Linked DNA regions of Homo sapiens: regions 2 and 3 are each linked to region 1. Evidence: promoter capture Hi-C in 16 types of primary human blood cells and fetal thymus (Javierre and others, 2016). All regions are on one chromosome and are shown on one strand. The core of a region is centred on a gene start or on the middle of the fragment in contact, and the rest is flanking DNA. Distances in the headings are between cores, read along the strand shown.

The links. Contacts are between HindIII fragments. The CHiCAGO score rates a contact against its expected background, and 5 or more counts as called.
Region 2: a fragment that was not itself captured here is called in contact with the fragment with the promoter of SUV39H2 in region 1 in 1 of 17 cell types (naive CD8 T cells); the score reaches 6.1 in naive CD8 T cells.
Region 3: the fragment with the promoter of RSU1 here is called in contact with the fragment with the promoter of SUV39H2 in region 1 in 6 of 17 cell types (fetal thymus, neutrophils, naive CD8 T cells and 3 more); the score reaches 12.3 in fetal thymus.

The regions. Positions count from the first base shown.
Region 1 is chr10:14,876,829-14,880,115 of GRCh38, forward strand. It overlaps SUV39H2 (SUV39H2 histone lysine methyltransferase), which reads left to right and starts at 2,038. Exons shown (of 6, transcript NM_001193424.2): 1 at 2,038-2,091. The coding sequence starts at 2,061. SUV39H2-DT (SUV39H2 divergent transcript) reads right to left here and starts at 1,831. Exons shown (of 1, transcript NR_186426.1): 1 at 1-1,831. RefSeq lists a silencer at 1,772-2,511. The HindIII fragment of the contact is 2,774 bases long and covers 823-3,287 here.
Region 2 is chr10:13,595,190-13,598,840 of GRCh38, forward strand. It overlaps PRPF18 (pre-mRNA processing factor 18), which reads left to right. Exons shown (of 10, transcript NM_003675.4): 2 at 2,269-2,346. Among named protein-coding and RNA genes, the nearest start is that of PRPF18, 10 kb to the left of the region's middle. The HindIII fragment of the contact is 1,428 bases long and covers 1,173-2,600 here.
Region 3 is chr10:16,815,966-16,819,635 of GRCh38, forward strand. RSU1 (Ras suppressor protein 1) reads right to left here and starts at 1,459. Exons shown (of 9, transcript NM_012425.4): 1 at 1,350-1,459; 2 at 1,008-1,119. The coding sequence starts at 1,116. It overlaps LOC105376435 (a long non-coding RNA gene), which reads left to right and starts at 1,734. Exons shown (of 3, transcript XR_930708.3): 1 at 1,734-1,791; 2 at 2,716-2,777. RefSeq lists enhancers at 938-1,097, 1,768-1,877, 1,908-1,997, 2,028-2,077. The HindIII fragment of the contact is 3,392 bases long and covers 1,390-3,670 here.

The DNA of each region.
Region 1 (3,287 bases), core at 788-3,287:
CTGAATGCTACGAAGTTCAGAAGTGTATTTTTCCGGATATGTTCAATTTGAGATGTTTGTGCAACACCTAAGGGCATATGTCCATTACGCACTGTGGATATTCTAGCCTGGAATTCAGGCAGAGGCCAGGGCCGGAGACGATAAGTGAGGCATCTTGTGTGTCAAGATGCTATTTAAATCCATGGGAATTGGGGCAGTCACATAGGGAGAGGGCGGAAAAGAAATGCAGTCCCAGGACTACAGTCTCTTCTCTGAGGAACCCAGGTTGGACTGAGGAAAAGGAGCCAAAAAGGATTCAAGAGTGGCCAGTGAGTAGCGATGGCCGCTCCTTGGTGGGCTCTGAAAACATACAGGAGAGGTAATGAATACAGGGGCCGGTTAGGACGGGAGGCTGTATCCAAGTCTGAAGGCATAATCCTAGATAGACTAAGCCTTAAAGGGCCTGGATGCTCTTCCAGGTGACAGGGTTGGACAGGGCCTTTTATTCCTTATCTCAAGGTAATGAGATATGGAATACAAAATTTACTAAGGACTCAAATCTTAGAAACATGTCTGAGAAATGCAGTTGCATTGAAACACACACGGACTGCAGAACAGTATTTGTATTATGATGCCGTTTGTAGCTAAATAAAGTCTGGGAGCATGAGTGTGTGTGAGGAAGTGGTGTTTCCCATCGTAGAAAATGATTAAATATTTAAAAACGAGAAGTTAAAAAGAAAATCACTCCGAAAAGGCTATTTCGTTATTTTCCTATACATTTTTTTCTTCCATAGTTAAAACTATATTTCAGGGGGATTTGTTTTGGTTTTGCTGAATACTAAAAGCTTCATGAACACCTTTTTAAGACGGCTAGACAGTATTTCATAATGGAATCAAATAATTAACTATTCCTTTAATGGTCTGCGTTCATTTCCAGTATTTCAAATTTATACATACTGCTTTGAAACGTTTATGTAATTTTTTACATGAATTTTTTAAGGAGATATCAAATGGCCTTCTGCCAGTTTTCGTTATTTGCTCTAAGATTTCTGCTTTAGGTTGTTTAGAACAATCATGGATGCAGCGTCAAGAATGGGTGGGGGAGGGGGGTGGAGACCAGGTGGGAGGCCCCTGGAGTCGTCCTGCAGCTTCCTTACTAACGTGTCCTTCTCCTCCCGGCCCCCACCCGCCACCAGGCCGAGCTCAGGAGCTTGGCAACAACATGGGAGGGGAGCTCGGGTCCCCTTACAGACCTACCCAATCCCAATTTACATTAAAGTTGAGCCCAGGAGGTCTAGTCTGCAGTGAGCCGTAATCGCGCCACTGCACTCCAGCCTGGGTGACAGAGTGAGACCTCATCTCTTAAAAAATTCCAAGTCCAGCTCCCCCACCCCCGACGATTCGTAAGCCCCTTTAAGTGAGAAGCACTGATGTGGACCGGTGGTTTCCGCTGTGCCGCACATTAGGATCAGCTGGGAGCTGGATAGCACAGGCCACACCCCACACCAACCAGTCGGAATCCCGGCGACTGCCCCAAGCCAGCGGAACCTCTCCAGCCATGCCCACGTGCAGCCGCTTCCGAAGCCCGGAGCTCTAGAGGGAGCGGTGTCGGGGGGAGACTAACCATGGCCCACGGGGCTGCGGTAGCTGCGGAACCGTACCCGACAGGCAGCGTCCCCGGCTCCCTAGGTCCCCGCTGCCCGTGTCGGATCTCGCAGTGTGCGAGTGCTGCCGAAGTAAGACGTCTCCAAAGCGCAAAGTCCTGGCCGACGTCTTCCCGAGTGAAGGCGCCAAACGGGCCTGGCGAAGGGAAGGGGGCGCCGGACACTGCCGAGGATCCGGGAGCACGCGCGCTCGCCCCGCCCCGCTCCTCGCGCTTGGGGCCGGGCCTAGCTTTGGGGCGCAGGCGCGCTGGCCGCCGCGGCGGGGGGTCGGCCGCCAGTGACGTCAGGACGCCGTGCGGGTTCCGTCCCCCAACAAGCCCCGGCCCCCAAGTCCCGCGCGGGCCGGCCAGGGGCGGGGCGTCGGGCCAGCTGAGCTATCCCGTCAGACCGCGCCAGTTTGAATGAAAGCTCTACAAGATGGCGGCGGTCGGGGCCGAGGCGCGAGGAGGTGAGGCTGGAGCGCGGCCCCCTCGCCTTCCCTGTTCCCAGGCAAGCTCCCAAGGCCCGGGCGGCGGGGCCGTCCCGCGGGCCAGCCAGATGGCGACGTGGCGGTTCCCCGCCCGCCGCGACCCCAACTCCGGGACGCACGCTGCGGACGCCTATCCTCCCCCAGGCCGCTGACCCGCCTCCCTGCCCGGCCGGCTCCCGCCGCGGAGGTGGGCACTGTCCGAGCCTGGGGCACTTCGGAAGTGGAGCGTGGCCTCTCCGCCCGCTCGGCCCGGCCCCCTCCGCGTCTCCCGTGGCGGCCTCGGGCTTCGAGGCCGCTCCCCGGCAGTCCCCGGTTGGAGGTCCGGGGGGCACGGCTGCGACTGGCTCCTTTGTGGTGGTTCGAGCGCGGCGTGCGGCATGCGCCCGGGCCTTTGAAGTGGGAGGCGGGAAGCGACGCCCGCCGGCGTGAACATGACCTTAATATCAGAGGGGGAGAGTAAATCGGGGCGCCTGTGTGCTAAGAAAGGGGATAAGCGAGGAATCCCCCCCAAGGCGGACACGCTAGGAGGTTGAGTGCCTCGTTGGAGAATCGCCCAGAAAGTGGGTATTTGAGGTTGCAGCCTCTGGCTTACGGTAACTCTTTCACCCACCGGGAGCTTGGTGTTATTTCTGTGGACGCTGGGGAATTGGGCACCGGGGAACTGGGCACCGAGCGCGCGTGGGTGTGGGCGTCGGGGGGTGTTGGTGTCGCGCACGCTTTGAGAGCCTGGAACTTTTCCGTGCGTTCCGGAATGTAAAGGTGTTTTCAAGCTCGTCTCCTCTCCGCTGGGATTATGACCTCATTATCCCTGAATTTTTCTCCTTGGAGAATGTCAGGGGTTACTGTGAACCAGCGGAAGGTGTTTGTGGTGGTCATGAACTATTTAATTTTGTCAGTGAAATCTTTTTCTGCATTACTGGAGACTGTCGAGAGATTGTCTTTCTTTTTTTAACCACGTGTTTGCAGTTTTTCATGTTCACTTTTTTTTTTTTTTTAATTTTCAAAGAGCATTTCCTTTGCGGGTTGTGTTTTGAATCCTCAACTAGATAAAAATGTTTAGGAAAAGCACACAAACACACCTTGAGTAGATAAGAGGAACCTCCTTTATACGTGATTCCCTTAATGAGGTCAGCTTAACACAAAACGTTCTCTAGTTTTTGTAGATGGAAGGGACT
Region 2 (3,651 bases), core at 637-3,136, 1.3 Mb before region 1:
AAACGGGGCACATAATGTCTTAGTATATCATGAAAATAAATTTGACCTTGCAAAACCTCTGAAAGAGCCTCTGTGGACCACATTTTGAGATGTTCTAGGCTTGAGATTTTGTTAGGTGTGTTCAATGGAATTGAGACATGGTCATCAAAGATAACATAGTTAAAAAGATTGGACCATGGCCTCCGGCCTGGAGAGTGTTTTTTCCTTTCTTTCTACACAGCCCTTTCTGAGAGGATACCAATGTGTGTTTGCCAACTTATTTGAAATATGACAATTATATACTACCTAGTCAAAAACAATTTTAGATGCCGAAATAATATTTTGGGAGTGAAGAACTGTAGCTTGGAAGACTAGATCAGAACAAAGGGTTTAAGGACCAGAGTTCTAGTTGCTACTCATCATTCTTCCTGAGTTCTGGGAATGTCACCTAACCTAATTCTCAGCGTTCTCATCTCTAAAAAGGGGTTAATACTATTTGCCCCCACCGTACTCAGGGTAGTTTTGATGTTCAGATGATACCATCGGTTCCTTACCCCAGATAACATCTTCATCTTTATTTCCGTAAAACTGTGCTTGTTGTGTGGTAGATAAGTCTGGAAATGTTTATTGAATTAAGGAATGAACTTTTAGAAAAACCTTATTCTGAAAGTTTTAAACATAATACAAAAATAGATAAAATTTTATGATGAGCCCCTGTATATCCTTCCCCTGAAACATGCAGCTCTAGAAAATGACATGTTCCTTTAAAACCAAAATATGATCACACCCAACAAAATTAAAATTAGTTTGTTAATTTTATCAGATACTCTTCTCACATTCGTATATTTTCCAACTGAATTAAAATATGTACATACATTTGCTTTTACAGTTGGTTTTTCAAGTCAGGTCAACACGAAGTTCAATCCTTGCATTTGCTTATTATGAATCTTGGTTTCTTTTAATGAAGAACGTTGTCATTTTCTCAACTTGGCTGATTTTTTCCATGCCATTGACTTGCTGGAGAAACTGGGGCTAGTTTTGTAAAATGTCTTTGATTTGTGTAATTGCTTCCTGGCATATTGACACTTAGTTAATTCCTCTCTTCCCTACATTTAACAAGGATACTTCGTAGACGATGGCTGGGTAATTCCTGTAGTATAACATAGGTGGTACATAATCTTTTACTGATGTCAAGCTTGATCATTGGGTTCAAATGGTGGCAGGCTCATCTTTCCATTGTCACCATTGGCCTTTTTCATAAGGTTTTAGCATCCATTGATGATCATTGTCTGAGTGAATGAGCTTTGGAACTATGAGGTGCTAAATACTTGTGTGGAGGTAGTACACAGGTAATATTATATCATTACTGTTAATACAGTCGGGGACAGTGTCTTTATTTGAACAAAGCCATCTTTGGAATAATATCCAAGAGGCAGAGCTGCGATGGCAACAAGCCTCCAAATTACGGACTGTAGATGTAACAATAAGGATAATTTTATGTATAATGTGGAAAGGACTGACATCTTTTTAGCCACAGACAAGATTTAGAGCTTGTCTCTTTACATCAAATCATATCACAACAAATACCTTGTGAGAGGATCATTTGAACCCAGGGAGTCGAAGTTGTGGCCTTGATTGTGCCACTCCACTCCAGCCCGCGTGACAGAGAGATACCCTGTCTCCAAAACAAACAGAAAACCAGAAAAACGCACAAAAAACCCCAAATATCCTTAAATCATTTTTTAAATAAAAGAGTTCACCAAGACCACCCTATATGTAGATTATTTTAAGAACTGATTGATATAATAAGGTTCCAGGTAACAAGAAAGAACTTACACTCCTGGAGTTCCCTTGTTATGTGGGATATCAAATGTAGGCTATATATGTCATAATTTTGTTTCTGTTAGGAAAAAATAATTGAGGTATACCATTTTATGTGTTTCATAATGAATCCATTTGAAGAAATTATCATTGAACTCAGACATTAAGAAGTGAAAACATTTGGAAAATATTCTTGGTCTCCTCTTTGCTGATGGACTTGCCTACTGATTGATACTGCAAGAAAAATACTTGAACTTACCACATATCGGTGCCCATAGTCGTAGTGGAGGGTTGTTGATGTGCTTGGGGAATCAATGTATTCATCTCTGGAACCAAAAAATATTTATTTTATCCAATTCTTGAAAAACTGAAGAGTGTTTCCAAAGTTTTCTAAAGGTATTTGTTGACTATGGGACATGAAATTTTGCTCAAGGATATATTATTGACATAATTTATTTTCTTTAATAGGAAAATAAAAAATATTTCAAGCGTAGTGAGCTCGCCAAAAAAGAAGAGGAAGCATATTTTGAAAGATGTGGCTACAAGGTATGAATGTCTGCTTTTATGTTAAATTGTACATTTCTGAGTTTAAATTTATACAGCTGTTGTTAAATGACAATCATTGATCTCTGTTCAATTTATCAATATACGTTAGCCTATAAATGAGAAGCCATCTGGAGAGGTATGAGTTTTTGTTTTTGCATTTTTAAAAAAATCTTGAATTCAGGAAAATACATGCATGACTTTTGGCTTGGAATGGTTTGGCTTTTTGTGGACGGCATGAAGTGGCTTGAGATCAAAGCTTGAATTTTTTTTTTTTTTTAATAAAGTCCTGAATCTGAGACTGCGTTATTTTCAGCTCCACCACCACTCCTCTCCCCCACCTCTCCCAATAAAACAGTCTATTTGGAAAGACTTCAAAACATTTATTCATCCAGCCACAGTAATATTAGTGGTGGTAATTTTCCTGCCTTCTCCGGAATATTTTAAGCCATCGATTTTATGTTTGCATTGTTAATACGTCCTTTTGGGTCCTAAGAACCTCTGCCTAAAGTATAAAGCCGTATATATTTATATGCCTTTGTTGTAATAAGGTATCACATTTCAAACACTGTTTAGTCTGTTGGATAGAAAATGTCATCTTGAAATATTTCTTAGAAACAAATGAGTTGTCTGGAAGGCTTTGCTTGTATATTTTAGAAGAAATTAGTTGATAATGTATTGTGGTTTTATTGGGAGGGGTTAAAGGGTATAAGGTGGAGAAGTTACGTTTAAATTATTTTAAAAGAAGACTATATCTAGCTTAATTTTTAACTCAAAGCTCAGAGGTTCTATTGGAATACTTTTGCCAAATCATAAACTTGTAATTAACCTTTTGCTTGTAAAATATCAATATAAGATAATACTTTTGTGCATGTAATGGGGAAAGTTCTGGAAATGGATTTATCCTGCATAGCATTTTTAGAAGGAAGCATGAGGAATGCACATGGTATGTATATGCATTTGGTTTGATTTTGTAGTGCTGGGAGAAGACAAGTATTAAAGAAAAATGTAGTTTTCAAAAGATACCAAGAAGTGACTTAAAAAAATTTTAAAATGTAATTATATTTCTGATGTTTTTAAAATATGGGAAAGTTTAAACTTGTATTTTGATTTTTTCCATAAAGATATTTGTTTTATTTGCTTAATTAGAAATGAAAATAAGTTTTATGTTAATAACCATTGAGTAGATAGATATTCAGAAAGGAACTCTCATTTTTGCCTTGCCCAGTGTTGTCTAACACACACTTGGTCTGGAATAAGAATCACTTACATAGGTTTACTCTGCTGGCTTGTGGCATTCCCAGATTC
Region 3 (3,670 bases), core at 209-2,708, 1.9 Mb after region 1:
GTAAGGTTGTGTTCAGATTCAGAAAGGCCTTGTACATCACGCCAAGAAACCTGGAGCATTACCGTCGATAATGGACAACCTGGAGAAGTGCGGAGAGGGTTTAAACCAAAGCCACGTCAGCCTGAAGAACTGCTTTAGCTCACTTATCACAGGTTTTTCAAATATTAGAATTAGTAGCCAACATCTAAAAATTAGCAAATTTCACATAAAAATATAGAATCTTGGTTCCTTTAAGAAAATAATCTGGCACATTGGGCCAACATTCCTATGGTGACATGTGTCTGAGTAGCAGGTGCAGCAGCTGGCCCCTTCAAGTGGGACACCTATCACCTAGTTCATAACCGCCCCTGACCGCCCTCACTTGGAGGCATGTGAATCTGCAATCCCTGGTTTTAAGGGAGAGGGTAACACCATAGACAGGGGTTACAGGAAAATGACACTGAAAGTGACCCAGTGATTAAACTGGGCAGTGAAACTGAAGGCAAGAGGGCAAGTTAGGAGGATTTCACCACAGCATGAGGAGGTGACAAAAGCCTGAACCAAGTTCGGAGAATAAATACTCAGAAGAATGTAAAGATTCAAGAAATGCTTAAAACGCTCCAGGCACAAGAATGCTTATTAACCATGGAACTTTTCTGTGTCATTTGTTCATGGACAAAGACTGTATTAGGAGACAGGAAGAAGGACTCAAAATTAATTTTCAATTTATAATTAAAGTGACTATTAAGCAAACTGTGGAAAATCCACCTCAATGCCATACAGCAGAGACAACCGATGAGGCACAGCTGTCTGTGTGATTCTCATCGTGGACTCTCAGGATCGTTTTCCAGGTGGAACAGAACAAATCCTACTGCAAACCCTCTGCGCGAAGCCCCTGACAAGTGAGGTTTACAAGCAGGGGCTGGGGTCTAAACCAGTACAATCGCTCACAGCAGGACCAGCAGTGAATTGGCAAACTTAGAAAGCCTTCCAGCTCATCCACGGGAGAGTCCTGCCCGAGAACTCACAGAGGCCGTTGACATCCAGCATGTTGGAGATGCCCCGGTCACTCATGTCCACCTCGGGCTGGTTCTTCTCCCGGCTCTCCTCCACCAACTTCTTCAGAGACTTGGACATGGTCTGCACCGAACAACAACAAAGCACGTGGGCGATGACAGCAAGCGCAGAGGCGGAAAGGCAAGAGGCCTTCGCTGCCACTCTGAGGCTTCCCCAGGGTTGGAGCGGGTGGGCGTCCGAGGGCGTCCCAGGGGCTGGTCCGGGTGCGGGGAGGGGATGGAGTGGGAAGGGTTCAGCCCCGCTGCGGCCACGCAGCGAGAAGCAACCCCAAGTGCAACACCGCACACACTCACCACGGAAGGTAGCCCCTAAGACGATGGGCGTGCAACCACAAGCTTCGGCAGAACGCACTCCAGCTGCCCTCACTCCCTGCAACACCGGCACTGAACAGCGAACACGCCCTGTCTCGGCGCCCCGCGCAGGCGCACACAGCGCCGCTGCCAGCTCCACGCCCGACCCTACCCATATTAGGAGAACAGCTCTCCAGACGTGTCTCCAGGGCCAGGCTCCGCCCTTAAAAGTCTGTGGAAGAGGCTGGCTAATCACGTTCGTTATTCGGCTTCGAGACCCCGCCCCACGCTGAGGATAGTTTATCCCGGTGGCGTCCACCCCACGGTTTGGGACGCTGATTGGGCCGAAGTTGGCGCGTGCGCAGTAGACTTGGCGCAAGCTCAGTTGATGGGTCGAAGCCCAGAGGGCTGTGGGCGGAAGTGGGGAAGTTTGTGGCGTGACTGTGTAAGGGAGGGTGGTGGCTCAGGGTGGGTGTTGCGAAAGCTGGAAGTAAATTGCTTCCGAATGTTTCGCTTGTGTAATAGCCGCTCCACTCGCCAGAAGTTGCTACCCTGAGCCCGTCTCCACAATGTGCCTCTGAGGGACCTTGTGGGGCACGCAGTTTCCCGCCCTATTAAGAGCTTCTCCAGGCGGGGATTCCGGCGCGGTCTGCGTTTCCCCAGCGCCCTGCTGGAAATCTTTTTTGACAGGTTTCTAAGGCTGGCTTTTAGCCTTTTTACTTGTAGCTAGAACCTACAAGTAAAACCCTACTATTTTAAAAGTCATTTGAAAACACCACTAAAGCGATGTGTCTTTCCCAACTAGGACTTTTACATTTGTGAAACATGACGTTCTGGCTTCCAGGAATCTCTTGCTTTCTCTTCCAAAAGCAACCAAATTTTAAATTCTAGAGAAACTGTTGCCCTCTGCCTCCCTATTTCCTGACCCAGTCTCAGTCACCCAGCAACATCCTGTGCTTCTCTCACCAAAAACCCTGTCCTGAGAGACTATTTTATACTATGGAATAAAAATTGGCACCAGGCACTTTTCTTCTACTGGTCACCTAAATTGATGATAAGACGGATGCCACACATATGCATTTATATATTGTAGATTGTAGCAGGGATCAAAGCCTTAAGGAGATGTGGTAAAATAATGTAATTATATCTCCGAACCAATTGGATAAAAAAAGGATCTGCACTCTTAAATTCGAAAGCAGGTATTTCTTGCTTAAAAAACATTCCAGATGAAAGAGTTATTCCTCCATTAGTCTTCTTTGATCTGGAACCGTCCTTGGCTTTTATGTTTATTGAACTAGACATTATTTAAGAATACAGACCAGGTATTGTGTGGAATATCCTTCAAAGTAAGTTTGATGTTCCCTTTCAGGTTATGAATTTTTGGAGAAACACCACTAAAGCGATGTGTCTTTTCCAGTGCATGATATCAAGGTACAGATGGCATCGGTTTCTCCCAGTATAGGTGATGTTCACTTAAATAAGGTAGTGTCTGCCAGGTTTCTTCACCATAAAGTTACTATTTTTTTCTTTATGATTAAAAATAATGCTGGGGGGAGGTGCTACTTGATTACACCCCATTCCTCATCTAATTTTTACCCACAAGTTTTAGCATCCACTGATGATTTTCTAACTTCATAATTTCATCAATACGTATTAGTAGGTAATCTCCTAATACATTTATTTCTTGAATCATTAACTCTTTTAAAGCAAAAGTCCTGTTTTGAAGCAATCAGAATTTTTCTTATTCTATCAATTTCTAATAGTGAATCTTGCCTAGGTAGGCTGAAGACATACAGTACCTGTGTTAGTCGGCTAGGGCTGTCGTAACAATATACCACAGCCTGGATGGCTTAAACAACAGAAATTTCTCACAATCCTGGAAGTTCTAGATCAAGGTGCCAGCAGATTTGATTTATCCTGTGGCCTCTCCCCTGCCTCGTGGACGACTGTCTTCTCTTGGTGTCCCTCCAGGGCATTTTCTCTATGCAGTCACACCCTTGGTGTCTCTTCTTCTAAGGACACCAGTCCTATTGGACTGCCGGCCTATAATAACACCCTGCATTTGTTTCATGAATGTACTCTCTTCTCAGGTATCACCGAGGATAATAGTTTTTAAACCTCTCTTCTGTTCACTCAATTATGTTTCTTCAAGGGTCCATTCTTACGTGTATTTATCTAGTCTTTTCCCTAGAAAAGAAAGATTCTTCCCCTCTCTGGTGATTGATTCTTGGTTGTTCTTTTGAGTTCAAGTGTGAAGATCTGAACTGGTTTTTCTAGATAGCTGGAGTGGTCTCTTGTTTGTTTGTATTGTTTTCCTCCTAGAT